Regions from separate parts of the Homo sapiens genome. Here region 2 is linked to region 1. Evidence: promoter capture Hi-C in human tissues and cell types (Jung and others, 2019). All regions are on one chromosome and are shown on one strand. The core of a region is centred on a gene start or on the middle of the fragment in contact, and the rest is flanking DNA. Distances in the headings are between cores, read along the strand shown.

What was found. Contacts are between HindIII fragments. The study calls those that stand out against the background at their distance.
Region 2: a fragment that was not itself captured here is called in contact with the fragment with the promoter of ZHX1 in region 1 in 1 of the 25 tissues and cell types used here (IMR-90 fibroblasts).

Annotation. Positions count from the first base shown.
Region 1 is chr8:123,269,936-123,276,376 of GRCh38, forward strand. ZHX1 (zinc fingers and homeoboxes 1) reads right to left here and starts at 4,351. Exons shown (of 4, transcript NM_007222.5): 1 at 4,282-4,351. It overlaps ZHX1-C8orf76 (ZHX1-C8orf76 readthrough), which reads right to left and starts at 4,351. Exons shown (of 6, transcript NM_001204180.2): 1 at 4,282-4,351. RefSeq lists silencers at 3,608-3,975, 4,012-4,211, 4,412-5,101 and an enhancer at 5,582-5,701. The HindIII fragment of the contact is 11,288 bases long and covers 2,339-6,441 here.
Region 2 is chr8:123,782,921-123,789,871 of GRCh38, forward strand. FAM91A1 (family with sequence similarity 91 member A1) reads left to right here. Exons shown (of 24, transcript NM_144963.4): 9 at 1,550-1,656; 10 at 2,161-2,199; 11 at 2,709-2,821; 12 at 3,575-3,690; 13 at 4,341-4,453; 14 at 4,744-4,830; 15 at 6,693-6,825. Among named protein-coding and RNA genes, the nearest start is that of FAM91A1, 18 kb to the left of the region's middle. The HindIII fragment of the contact is 4,773 bases long and covers 1,263-6,035 here.

The DNA.
Region 1 (6,441 bases), core at 3,101-5,600:
TTCAAAAGGCAGATACTAATCAATCAAATTTAACCTCTCCCCCCACAAACTTTTTCTGACCTTAGCTTCAAAATAAATCATTACTGTATGACATATTTAAGGGGTATTTCATAGAACTAGCAAACATCTGATATAAGTAATTTTATCATAGTAACGAGGAGAAATTGTTCTCATGATCTTCCCCACTCCCAAGTATAGCCCATGTCTAGCAAAATTTTAACAAACTTCTTTTTAAGAATATTGATGGTAAAAGAGAATAAACTTAGAAGAAAAATATAATTATTAGTTTAGTGCTTAGAAATATCAGAACCTCCTATCTTCTTTCATTTCTCACTAAAAAACAAAAAAGGAAAAGACTTTTAAGAAGGGGAAAAAGGAAGTTAGAAATCTTGAGAAATAGGAAATCACCAAAATTTAATGAAAGAGTTATTTTATTTACAATAATATATGATATGGCTATGACTTCGATATTTTAATTTTGTTAAGATAAATTCTGATAATATTTTTTAAAATCTAAAACTAAGAACTGAAAATTAAAATCTTGCATTAAAAATGATTTATTTGGCTGAGTGCAGTGGCTCACACCTGTAATCCCAGCATGTTGGGAGGCCAAGGCAGAAGGATTGCTTGAGGCCAGGAGTTTGAGACCAGCTAGGGCAACACAGTAAGACCCTATCTCTACAAAAAAAAAAATTAAAAATTAGCCGGGCGTGGGTGACACATGACTGTAGTCCTAGCTACTCAAGAGGCTGAGGAGAAAGGATCGCTTGAGCACAGGAGTTTGAGGGTGCAGTGAGCCATGATCATGCCACTGCACTCCAGCCTGGGCCACAGAATGAGACCCCGTCTCAAAAAAAAAAAAAAAAAAATGTATTCAACTGGCTCCCTTGAATAAACATAATTCTTAAACTGCTCATATATACTTATTTTACAAAGTATATCATCACATTTGTTTAGACCAAAGGTATACAGTCTTACCTCTTAAGTTGGAAACTGATTGTATAAAATGCCAAGATTAAGTATCTTTTAAGATCAAAACCTGGCAACTACATACAAAGTTACATATTAATATTTACTTTAAGAATATCCTGTATAAAATGCAGATCTCCAAAATGTAAACTCAAATGTATATTCTGATTAATAATCTAAGTCAGCAACTTTAGTCATGCAAATCTGGTTATTGATGACTACAAATATATCAGAGCAACAAGGATACAATAAAATTTATCAATAATAGTATAGAAACATTGGCTCTTATTCTAAAGATAGTATCAGTTTTAAAAACAGAACTATAACTTACTTTTGAAACTACGTAGGATTATTTAAAAGGATTTTAAGTTCAAAAAATTTAGTCTTAACAGTAAATGTGCTTATCACAACATAAATAAATATTTATAATGATTTAAAAAATGTGTATTACTGGCTAGCACCATAAACAGTACAATAGATAATTCCAAAAATCTCTCTGAATAATTGCACTGACTATGATATTAGATTAAAAACTAGGTGCTGAACTTTCAACACTGTTTATTTAAGTAAAGTCTTTGGGCCCAAATCCACAATGCTGCAACACAAATAAAAGGGTTATTTCCTCAGCTACATTTGTGATCATTTTAATAATTTTAAAAGCATTTTCATTTAAGTATTAAGTTATAATTTACAGCAAACTAAGTCTCAAATATCACATTTTATGCTTAATTAGCATAAGAAATATAATACATCATAATATAACCTTTCCATCTTAATATAAAATATAATAATACAAAAGGGAGAAAAATCTTCAAAATGAACCACCTCTCCTATGCTATTAATTTCGCTAATAACTGTAAAACTTTGTCCCCAATTATTGAAAAAAAAAGAACTTACAATTATCATTAAAGGTGAAATAATTGCTACATCATGCATGAACTACCCCCCAAATCCGGTGAAATAATAAGCTTAGCTATAAAGGAAAGAAATCCACTAATGAGTGTTCACTAGCACAGGCACATTTATGTTTTCGGATTTAGCATATTTTCAAACCATCTGGCATTAATGCCTCTCTGGTTCACCCAGCCTAATCTGTTCAGAATTGAATATAAAACCAGAGCTACATGAACATTGAGGAAACCAAAGAACAGCACACGTGCATAAAATGTTCCAAATGTAAAGTTCTAAACTAGTTTCTATTTGAACTGTATCTTTAAAACATTTCCATTGAAGACGTTAAAGCTCTTTCGAAAATACAAGAATGGTTCAAGAAATCTCTATGAATCATCACTATCATCAGTTACCCAAGTATTACCCTTTCTCATTTTAATCCTGATTGTCAAATAAGGCGTCTGAAGAGGTACTTCAACAAAAAAGATTCATTGATAACTGAAATGCTATCATTTTATATCGAAAAGGTCCACGATTATACATTTTACTTTGTATAAAATTAGTCTGCTTAGCCTTAACATGCTTTGGGAAAGGAGAGAAAAGCTAAAAGGAAAAAAATATTCATGAAAGCCCTTTTTCTTTTATGTCCTGTTACCGCATTATTGTCATTGGCAGCACTCACATTTCTTTTGCTTAAAATCAGGAGTCAGAATTGCTACTTTAGAAATTAAAATAATCGATGGGTATACTAGGGCCAATTTCCCTGTTAAAACCAACTCCTGCTCACCTTCGCTCCCGACATAAAAACAAATGACTTTTTCAGAATAATTTTTCAGAAACGAAGATAATTAATGTAGCACCATATAACACAAATTAAAGCTTTCAGACAAAGACTGAGAAACAATGACCAACACCAGCAAATCTAAAGTGCTCTTATATATGTATACACACAACACACACACACACCCCAAACCAAATATTCACTGTTCCTGGGGGGAGACTGCTTCTTCCTCCCTAACCGTGAACCGCTGTATATTTTCCAATTTTGTGATTTTCCTTTTTCTGCTATCACATTAACCTCCAAGAGAACTGCTTAAGTTACATGGAATCCCAACCTAATCACATCACGACTTCTCTCTCAGCCTTTACATTTTTCTCTCAAATATTAGCTCTTCGCATTTTTTTTTTTTTCTAATAGCTGGGCTGAGTTGACAGAAAAGGGCTGTGGAATTCCTGCTCTGTCCGATATCTTCCCTGTATTCCTCTTTTCTCATCCCTAGTCTCTGTTCTAATTCCCCCGCCTGCTGTCTCTCATTGACGCCTTCCCAGCTGCTGGATCCTTCACTAACCTAAGCTAAGGATATCAAATGGAATCTTTTCCTTCTCAGGGGCTATGCTCTTTCCTTACAGTTACCCACGGAGGAGAGAGGACAGGAAAGGTACTAAAACAAAGAATTGCCAAGTCCCTTTACCTCCAACTTTGGTGTAAATATATAAGGAAAGGGGATCTGCCAGGGCTCTTCTTTCCTGCCCTTAGACCTTGTTCCTCTCACACCTCTCCTTCCCAGCCTTTTATACCCCTTGAGGTATTAGTAGATTGTTCACTGTGGGCCCTAAGGCTTGGAGGATTCCCATGGGTCAGCCCCCACACCCCCACGCCCCTACCATCCTCTTTAATTAACTTCTCCCTAAATCCCAGGGCTTCGTCACAATCGTAATATGGTTCTTAAGGACTCAACTCCCAGTCTTTCCCAAAGTTGGGACATGGCCTGGCCCCGAAACGGGTGCGCATAGCCTTCCTTGAACTGGAGGTAAAGACTTCTCCTGAAGGGTTTGCTGGGGCTCCAACCTCAGTCAGTGCGCTCAGCTCCAGCAAGAGAATCTCTCCTTACTCTCAGGGAGACTGGGTCCCCCACGAGGCAGCCACACGCCCCCGGAGGACAGCGCTCCTGACCTCCTCTAGGACTCCCAACATTACTGGGGTGCTCCCTCCGGCGGCGCCCTCCGCTGGGAATACGCAGTCTTCACTCCTCTCAACAATCCTAAGTTGCTGGGTCCTCACCAAGGCAGGGGGCTGAGATGTTCCCTCCAGAGAGCCCCCCGCCCCCAAGCTCTTTCGGTGGCGGAGACACCCAAAAAGAGCGAGGGAGGCTGTGGGTCTGTCTGTCCCTCTGCGGCGACTACCCAGCCGCGAGGCAGGCCCCGTCCCTCCCCCTCGGACGCCCCACGCCGGGTCCACCCCGCCACCCGCCGCCGCGAGCGGGCTCAGCCCCAGGGGTCTCTGCTGTGAGGCTGCCCTCCTCCCGCCAGGCCCCGCGCTACTCGCCTTTCCCGTGCCGGCCGCGGACTCTGCGCTCCAGTTCCCACCCGCAGCCCAGAGTCTCCGGGCCCGCTGGTCGCGGAGCCGGCTCGCGCCACTACCTGCAGGGGCCGCCGCGCCTCTCAGCGCCACGCCGCCGCCATCTTGCATTTCAAACCGGCTGCACTTTTCAGGGAGTCAACTCTGACCTGTGAACCCTAAACCCGGAACCGCTCGGCGGGCCCGCAAAGGGGCCTCAGCAGCTCGGTGGCCCCGCGGAGTGTGGGGACTCAGGGTGGGGGTGCGAGGAGAGGCGCGCGCCCCAGCGGCCGTCCGGGGGCGGAGGGGGAAGGGAGAGAGCCGGCCAAGGCGGGGCCCTCCCGCGCGCGCGTCCTCCGCGCGCCCCCACCCCGTGCGGCGCCGAGCTCTCCACGCCCAGACCCTGCTACTCCACTGGGGTCCGACCCCGGCCCCTAGTCCGGGGATTGGCGCACCGCGGGAGGTAGGGAGGCGCCCCGCCCCCCTGTCAACAGAAGCCCCGCCCCAGACTGCGGAAGCTCCGCCCCCTGTCAGGAGACGCCCCGCCTTCCCAGGGCTCGAAATGGCCCCGCCCTTTGCCTGCGACCGCTCCGCCCGCTGTGGACTGAAGCCTGGTCTTCTCTCGGGTCAGCACAGAAGGCAGCCCCGCCTTCCTTGCGCTCCGCCTTCCTAATGTCACTGCTGGATCGTGAGAGGTAAGCATGCTGGCTTCTACTGAAACGCCCCTTGTCATCACACGCCCATCCCCTGGGGCGACACGACCCAGGCCCCGCCCCTCGGGGGGCTGCTGCGAGTCCGGCCGGGAGCCCAGCGCCCTGACAGAAGTCGCCGCGCCCCTTGTCAGCGGCAGCTCCACCTCTCCTCGCTTCGGACCCCGCTCCTCCGCGGGCCGCAGCTCCACCCGCTGACACCGAAAGTTCAGTTCAGCTGCACTCAGAACCGCCGGGCAAGGCGGAGCCGCCCTCTGCCCCTCAGCCGCCCTCCTCCCTGCGAACCGCCACTCGCTCTTCCAGAGGCTTCTGTCCGAGTCGAGGGCTTCACATCCCGTCGGCTTTCAGGGAACCAGCCCCGCAGCGGGGCCAGCGAGGGCCAGGGGTTTCGGGAACACTGCCCGGCGTCTCCGCCCCTCCCTACTCACTTTCCCTTTCCCCCGCACCGCGGTCAGAACGTGGAGGAACAGAACCAAAGCGGAGAGCGGCGACTCACCCTCCAGCTGCTCCACACGCCGGGCCTTGGACGCTCGAGCGCTCCTGGGCCCCTTGACGTTCACTCCCCACCCCCATCCCAGTCGCGGACCCTTTGTGCAGAGCTCCGCTGAGCCACAGTAATCCTAAAAGCACAGCAGAGCTCCGCTGAGCCACATTAATCCTAAAAGATGCAATTGCTTCAAGTGGAAGTCTGATTTTTTTTTTTTTTTTGAGACGGAGTCTCGCGTTGTCGCTTAGGCTGAAGTGAAATGGCGCGATCTCTGCTCACTGCAACCTCTGCCTCCCGGGTTCAAGCGATTCTCCTGCCTCAGCCTCCCGAGTAGTTGGGATTACAGGGGCCCGTCACCTAACGCCGGGGTAATTTTTGTATTTTTGGTAGAGACAGGGTTTCGCCATGTTGGCCAGGCTGGTCTTGAACCCCTGAACTCAAGTGATCCGCCAGCCTCGGCCTCCCAAAGTATTGGGATTACAGGAGTGAGCCACCGCGCCTGGCCGTGGAATCTGATCGTTGAAATCAGTGTTCTACAATATTCTTTTTATTTGTAGGTTTCATCCTGGAATCCTAAAACTTGTGTAGGATAAGGCTTAATTTTATAAGCAAAGGTATTCAACCCTGCCACATTCAATGCCCTGTATTTACAACAAAAAATATAACACTGCTTTACTCTTCTGGAGTTAAATTCCTAATGCAAACTATCTCTACAAATAATTTCAAGAAACCAATGTAATGTTCTAATAAAGGTGAAAAAGGAGAAAGTAGTTCATAATAAAATACTGTATGTACTAATATCAAGAAAAATTTTAAAATAACAGAGTTTTCACAATGTAAATACTCTGCCACCAATAGAATGCAAAACAAAAACTGTCCCGGCAAAATTTCAGTATGCCCCTGAGGGGCAGTACTGCCCTCGCTGGGAACCTCTTTAGACCGAGGAAGAGGTCTGGAAATGCTTCAAATAGAGAAATTCATTCTTTTGTCTACACAGTTAATGACAAGTTTTCTTTTGTTGTTGTTGTTGTTGTTGTTTTTGAGAC
Region 2 (6,951 bases), core at 2,399-4,898, 510 kb after region 1:
GTACTTTGGGAAGCCAAGGTATGAGAATTGCTTGAGCCCTGGAGTTCGAGACCAGCCTGGGCAATATAAAGGGACCCCTTCTCTACAAAAATAAAAATGAAAAGAATTAGTCATGCGTGTTGGCATGTGGCTGTAGTCCCAGCTACTTGGGGGACTGGGGCAAGAGGATTGCTTGAGCCTGGGAGGTCGAAGCTGCAGTAAGCCACAATCCCCACCCTGCATTCCAGCCTAGGTGACAGAGTGAGACCCTGTCTCAATAAATAAATAAATAAATAGATACATTTAAAAATAGGGGTAATTATACTACTGTACAACCCACGGAGTTAGGAGGATTAAATGAAAATGTATATATAAAGTACTTGGTAATAGCCTAGCACTTAGTAAGCATTCAATAAATGCTATTATTATTTACATAGCTGATAGTGTAGGGAAATAATTAATGTTGTCAAAGACGGGATTTCTAAAATATTTCTAAAAAGAAACCATTGATCATTAAAAGTACCTAGATGACTAGAAATATAGGTAGTACTAAATTAGAAAATGACATGAGCCAGATCTGTAAAGTGAATAACCTATCCTCAGATGTATGTACATTGTAGTTTTTCAGTGTCTCAGTTTTGACCATTTGAATTTTGTCTTATTTTTCACTATTAGGAATAATTTAAATTTTTGGGTACAATTAGATGATATTAGGGCCAGGGGACATAAAGATACCCAAATGCTACTATGGCCTAGGCATTCCTCCTTCTCAGGATATTTTCAGGGTGAATGTACCCACAGGGGAGAATGGCAAAGGAAAGCATAGAGCTTGTTTTTTATTGGCTGGGCAGAGCACTTTGGTAAATCAGATTAGAACATTTGGACCAAAGAGATAGAAGTGAGTATGAATGAACATTCAGGTGGAGAGTGATGGTTGGGCTGCCCACTGTGCTAAAGGGGATCTTGACCCTGTTGCCACTGAGGCCCACTGGGGAGGATACCAGAAAAGAAAGCCCCAAAGAACGAGTTAGCCCAGTGACTTCTGGTAAACATGATGGTCATGCAGATGAATTTCCATTTTTAGGATGGAGTAGGGATGATGGGGAGACAGAGCCAATACTTTGCATCCACCTGGTTTTCGTATAGCGTAGCAACTCTTTCTTGCAGTCATTTGCTTTTCAGCTTTGGCCCACTCACCCCTGCTGCCTATGAGGCATCAAAAACACATGTATCAGAAACCCTTTGCAGGCTCCCCCATTCTGAAGCAGCCCCTGTTCCCTCACCCTTCTACCAAGTCCATGTCATCCAGCATTTCTGAGTTACCTGTCTCAGTAACTCTGAGTTCCATGGTGAATTAAATGAACTCTGTGGATTTCGTGTCTACCTTCAGAGTCTTCTCTGTGTACGTATTGTAGAGTTTCAGAAAACTTGCTATGGAGTGGATAAATAAATCAAAAGCTGCATTCAGTCCCTAAGTTAGAGGTTTCTTTTTTTAATTAGATATGTAAATTATACTTTCTTGTTTTATAAAATCTGTACCACTGAGAAAAATCTCTTCTGTTTGTTTTAGTTCCACCTCTTGAAGGTTTTGTAATGAATCGAGTGCAAGGTGATTATTTTGAAACTCTACTCTATAAGATATTTGTTTCAATAGATGAGCACACAAATGTTGCAGAGGTAAGTTTGACAACGTCTCATGAAAATATAATCTCAAGATTGTAAGTTTGTGTAAAGTAAGTAAAGTTATTTAATATGGTAGTATCTTTTTAAAATCTCCATGTGGGGAGATCATACCATTATTACACTTAAATGTCATTATTCTTAACGTTCTTATAAATGTATATTAAAATTTAAGTTAATAATTTATAGTTTGGTTAACTTTTTATATGACTTTTTGTACTAAAGTATTGTAGACTATATTGATCTATCCAGGAATTTTATTTTAAATGAGACGAAATTAAAGAGTAAGGAATCTTAAATTGTTATGGTCACTCCATGGATTTGTACTATAAGGATCTTAGAGATAGGGAAAGAAGAAAGTTCTGAATTCAAAATTTATTCAGTCTTCTAATTATTCATAACTTAAAATTTTGCTGATTATGATTATATTGGTCTATTACAACTGTGTAATGTGCTGTTAATTCTAAGAATGTAAAAATAAATTTTAATTTTATCTTCTAGCTTGCAAATGTCCTTGAGATTGACTTATCCCTGGTTAAGGTATGTTATTTTTATACTCATTTACTGGTGATGTGATAACTGAGTGGATTTTACTAGTAGATTTTTATCTTGATAAGCTACTGAGAAACGAAGACATTGAGATTGTTGTTAGCTGTCTGAGAGAACGTGCACAGTAAAGGGGCACTTGCAAAGACAGGAAAGAGCAGGAAAAGGGGCCCTAAATTGGGATTCAAACACATGGACTGAAAAGAGAGCACTCATGCAAGAAGCAGCCCAAGCAGTATCTTGTAGTGAGGTCCGTTAAAGCAACAACTCCTGCTTCATTAGGGGTAGATGTAGGGAGGGCAAGGCCAGAGAGTTGGAAACATTCCCTCCTATACATTTATGAAGACTTCAAGGGAGGAGCAGGTCTACTGAAAATAGTTTCTGGTTACGGGATGAAAATGTTTGAGAATCACTATTAGTCTATTACACTATTTTTTCTCTACAAATATTGTGATGTCTAGTTTATTTTAAATGGTAATTAGTTTCCTTTATATTCCTTTCAGAATGCTGTTTCAATGTATTGCCGATTGGGCTTTGCCCATAAGAAGGGACAAGTAATTAATTTGGATCAACTTCATTCATCATGGAAGAATGTTCCATCCGTAAACAGATTAAAGTAACTTAAATTTATTCAGTATGAGCTATTAGAGTTTCCTTTTGAAAAGACATTTAATTTTACATACATAAATTTATTTATTTATTTATTTATTGAGACAAAGTCTCTCTCTGTCATCCAGGCTGGAGTGCGGTGGCGCGATCTCGGCTCACTGCAACCTCCACCTCCCCGTTTCAAGCGATTTTCATGCCTCAGCCTCCTGAGTAGTGGGGACTATAGGTGTGCACCACCATGCCCAGCTAATTTTTTGTGTTTCTGTTAGAGGTGGGGTTTCACCATGTTAGCCAGGCTGGTGTCGAACTCCTGGCCCCAACTGATCCACCCACCTTGGCCTTCCAAAGTGTTGGGATTGCAGGTGTGAGCCACTGCACCTGGCCCAGAAATTTTATTTATTCAACCTGTCAGTTGAGGTGAGCCCTTTATATTAGTGATTTTTAATCTTGTGTGTGTGTTACAGATCTTTTTTGGAATATAATGAAAACTAAGAAGGCTTTTCCCAGAAAAAAAGCAAATAAATATTTTACATAAAATCTTGAAGGGTTCTTGAATTTTCTGAAGCCTATCCGTGGATCTTAGTTAAGAACCCTTGTTGTATGTAGGCAGAGCATTTTTGGGCTGCGACTTAATTTTGGGCTTGAATATAAGACTGAATTTTGATGGATTGTTCATAATTTAAGTCTTAACTTCAGTAGATATTTTAATGTAAGGTCATTTATATGATTTTTAAAAAGCAAATGCATTCTTCATTAATAGGAGTACCTTAGATCCACAGAAGATGCTCTTGTCATGGGATGGAGGGGAAAGTAGGAGTCCTGTACAAGAAGCTTCATCGGCAACTGACACTGATACAAATAGTCAAGAAGATCCAGGTTAGCAGTAACTCAGTTTAACATAGAGTCTGTCTGTAGGTACGGCACATGTCCAAACATACACTCTTACAGTTACCTTCTAATTTTAGTTTAGATTTTATTCAATACGCAGTCTTTGAGTGTTTTACTATATTTTGGGCACTGTGCTAAGTCCTAGGTATATAAAACTGACAAGAATATGGTACCTTTCTTCTAAGAATTAAGTCTAAGGAGAGAGAAGGGAATGTGACCAAACAAATTACAACAACACGGGCACCAATTATAATGCTTGTAGGGTGCAAAGAGGAAGAGACCCTTAATTGGCTAGAGAGGTTTGGGAAGCCTTCACAGAGAAGATGTTATTTGAGCTAAGAATGAAGAAGAGCCTGCCAGCTGGTCAGGGAAGGAAAGCCATTTCAGCCCGAGAGAATAGTGAGGCTAAGCCCAAAGGGAAACACAGCATAGTGGACAAGGCCTAGGGTTAAATGCTTTTTAATATTCTTTGCGCTTCAAAATAGGTATGGCTGGAACTTCTTATGGCTATAATAGTGCCTTTTTAAAATTATGTACTTTCTGGTTATCAAATAAAGCTGAAATGAAATACTTTCACTCCAAATGGTAAGCAAAGAATAATTTCCATTTACTTGATTTTAAATTATGGTGTTTTTCAGCTGACACAGCCAGTGTAAGCAGCCTGAGTCTGTCTACAGGACACACGAAGCGCATCGCATTCCTGTTTGACTCCACTCTTACTGCCTTCTTAATGATGGGAAATCTTTCACCAGTAAGCCCAATTCTTGTTTAAATATGAAGGTGTTTAAAATAAATACTAGATATAAAATAATTTAATGCTTTTATATCTTTTTTAAAGTACTACATTTATTCCCGAAGCACAACTGACTTAGAGGAGTATAATAACTTTCAGGGAAGGTCCTTTTGTAATTGGAAGAATTAGCCCCTCACCCCCCAATCCTTAAGTTTAAATATATTTGAAAGGATAATATAAATATTTGATAGTATGCTTAGCATAAAAAGGGAGAAGTAGAACTTTAATATTTTGTTTCTTTTTTTCAGAACTTGAAAAGTCATGCAGTCACAATGTTTGAAGTAGGCAAACTCTCAGATGAGTCTCTGGACAGCTTTCTTATAGAACTAGAAAAGGTAAATGTAGATTGCATGTAAGGGGATGTTAGGGCATTTGGAATCTGTCCTTGCTTGACAGAATGCCAATTATACAGTCTGTTGATTTGGATGGGCTTTCAGTGTATTCTTGCTCGTTCCTACCTCATTCCCCAAATTAGTACTCTTACAGTCATTTAGACTTAAACATATTGAGTGGGTGAATTGATTTTGTGATTTTTAAAGTGATATGTCTACCTCATCTAATTCTTAACATAATTTGAGATAATGAAGAAATGGGGTATAGAAATTTTAGTCTGTAATGTTTTAAGTTGAATTTTTGCTAAAATAGCCTTTCAATTTTTTTTCTGGTATGACTCTCTAAGATCACCTCTTAAGCAGTTTGATTTGAAGTTTTTGTTCCATTTACCTTGAATCTGGAACAATATCCCTGGGTATCATATTTATGTCCGCTCTCACTATCCCTTTTAGCATCTTGAAGACTTCAGCCATATTTGCTCTTAACCACCTTTTTCCCCGTGAGTACAGCCCTAGTTTTCCTTAGCTCTAAATAAATCTGATTGCCCTTTATTGGTGTTTTTCATTCTTCGGATATTTTATTCTGGCCTCTTTGTATTCAAATAGTTTGTGTGCCTAATCTGTTCCTTGACTAATACTTTTCGTGCCTTTTGTGCTTTATGATGAACTTTGTATTTTCAATGCACTGTTTAGAGAATTTGTGGTGATTCTGCAACTCCTTTATATCTTAAAAAAAAAAGACTGTAACATTTTTCACTGCTCCTACTCCATAGGATTTTTACTTTTATTAGTGCAGAAATATGTGTGAGATAATCCTTTGCTATTAATTGGTCTCTTTTACTTTTACCTTTATACTGCCATTTATTTCTTCATGCTTCTTTATTTGTTAACCCCATTTCTTATTGTATATTATCTTCTACTAATAAATTTCTTACTATGTTACTGCACATTTCAAGTTCTGGTTTTCTGATTTTTATCTTTTTTTCACCTCAGCTAGTCTTTTATCAAATGTAGCAAATTGCAAGTTGACTTCTGCTCTTTTACTCATAAATCTATGTTCTTTTTCATCACAAAGTCATTCTTGGGAAAGCCTTTCAGTCTGAGGCTTAGTTTTTAAAGTGGATTCTTAGCTATTTTTTAAGTAGTTTGATCTTAAGATTGATTTCTTAAATGTATGCAAATCTGATTTAGTTATTTTCCCGTTGGTAGACCTATCATTCCATTTTCTGTGTTGTTTCTGGGATATATGTCTCTACTTATTAAAAGGTGACTTATTCAGACTTATTCAGAAGAGCATACATTAAACTATAAGGCCAGTGAAGGCAGGGGTTTTGTCCATTACTCTATCCTTATCTCCTAGGGAGGTCATAGTCCATAGGAGGCACTAAGTAAATCTTTGTTGAGTGAATTTAAGCTGTGTGTTCAGCAATGGTGAACAGCTATGTTGAATCACAGACTCCAGTGTCTCTTGTAACTGGTAATACAGAATTGTGAACAAAGTTATGAGAATTATAGGTAAAACTGGTGACCTTGGAGTACTTTCCTAGATGGAGCAGAATACGGGTTTTAGAGTTGTTTAAGCACTCTATTTGAATCATTTGGAACATGTAACATATAATGCTATAACTTAGCATTATTCAATTGCTAAAATTGTTAGTCTTAGTTGAAGTAATTTCTATCTCCATAGATGTAGTAAAATTGGGAACTCAACCAAGACTGAGGTTAATAACTTGTTTCGGTATTGCCTGGGCAAATTTTTGATTTACTACTTTTGAATAATGTCTTATATCTCTATTATATGATTATTAGAGTGAATGGCATAAAAGTGGTATTTTTGTTGCAAAATCTATTTTCTCTTGGTTTAGGTTCAGAGCACTGGTGAAGGAGAAGCACAGAGATATTTTGATCATGCACTTACTCTGAGAAACACAATACTGTTTCTGCGTCATAACAAAGATCTAGTTGCGCAAACTGCACAGCCAGACCAACCCAATTATGGTATGATAAATATATTTAATTTTGAAGACATGATCATATGAAACTTTTTTCTAAGAAATTAAACAGATCATGCTCACTTATATAATCATCACTTACGTATTTTGTGTAGATAGCATATTGAATTTA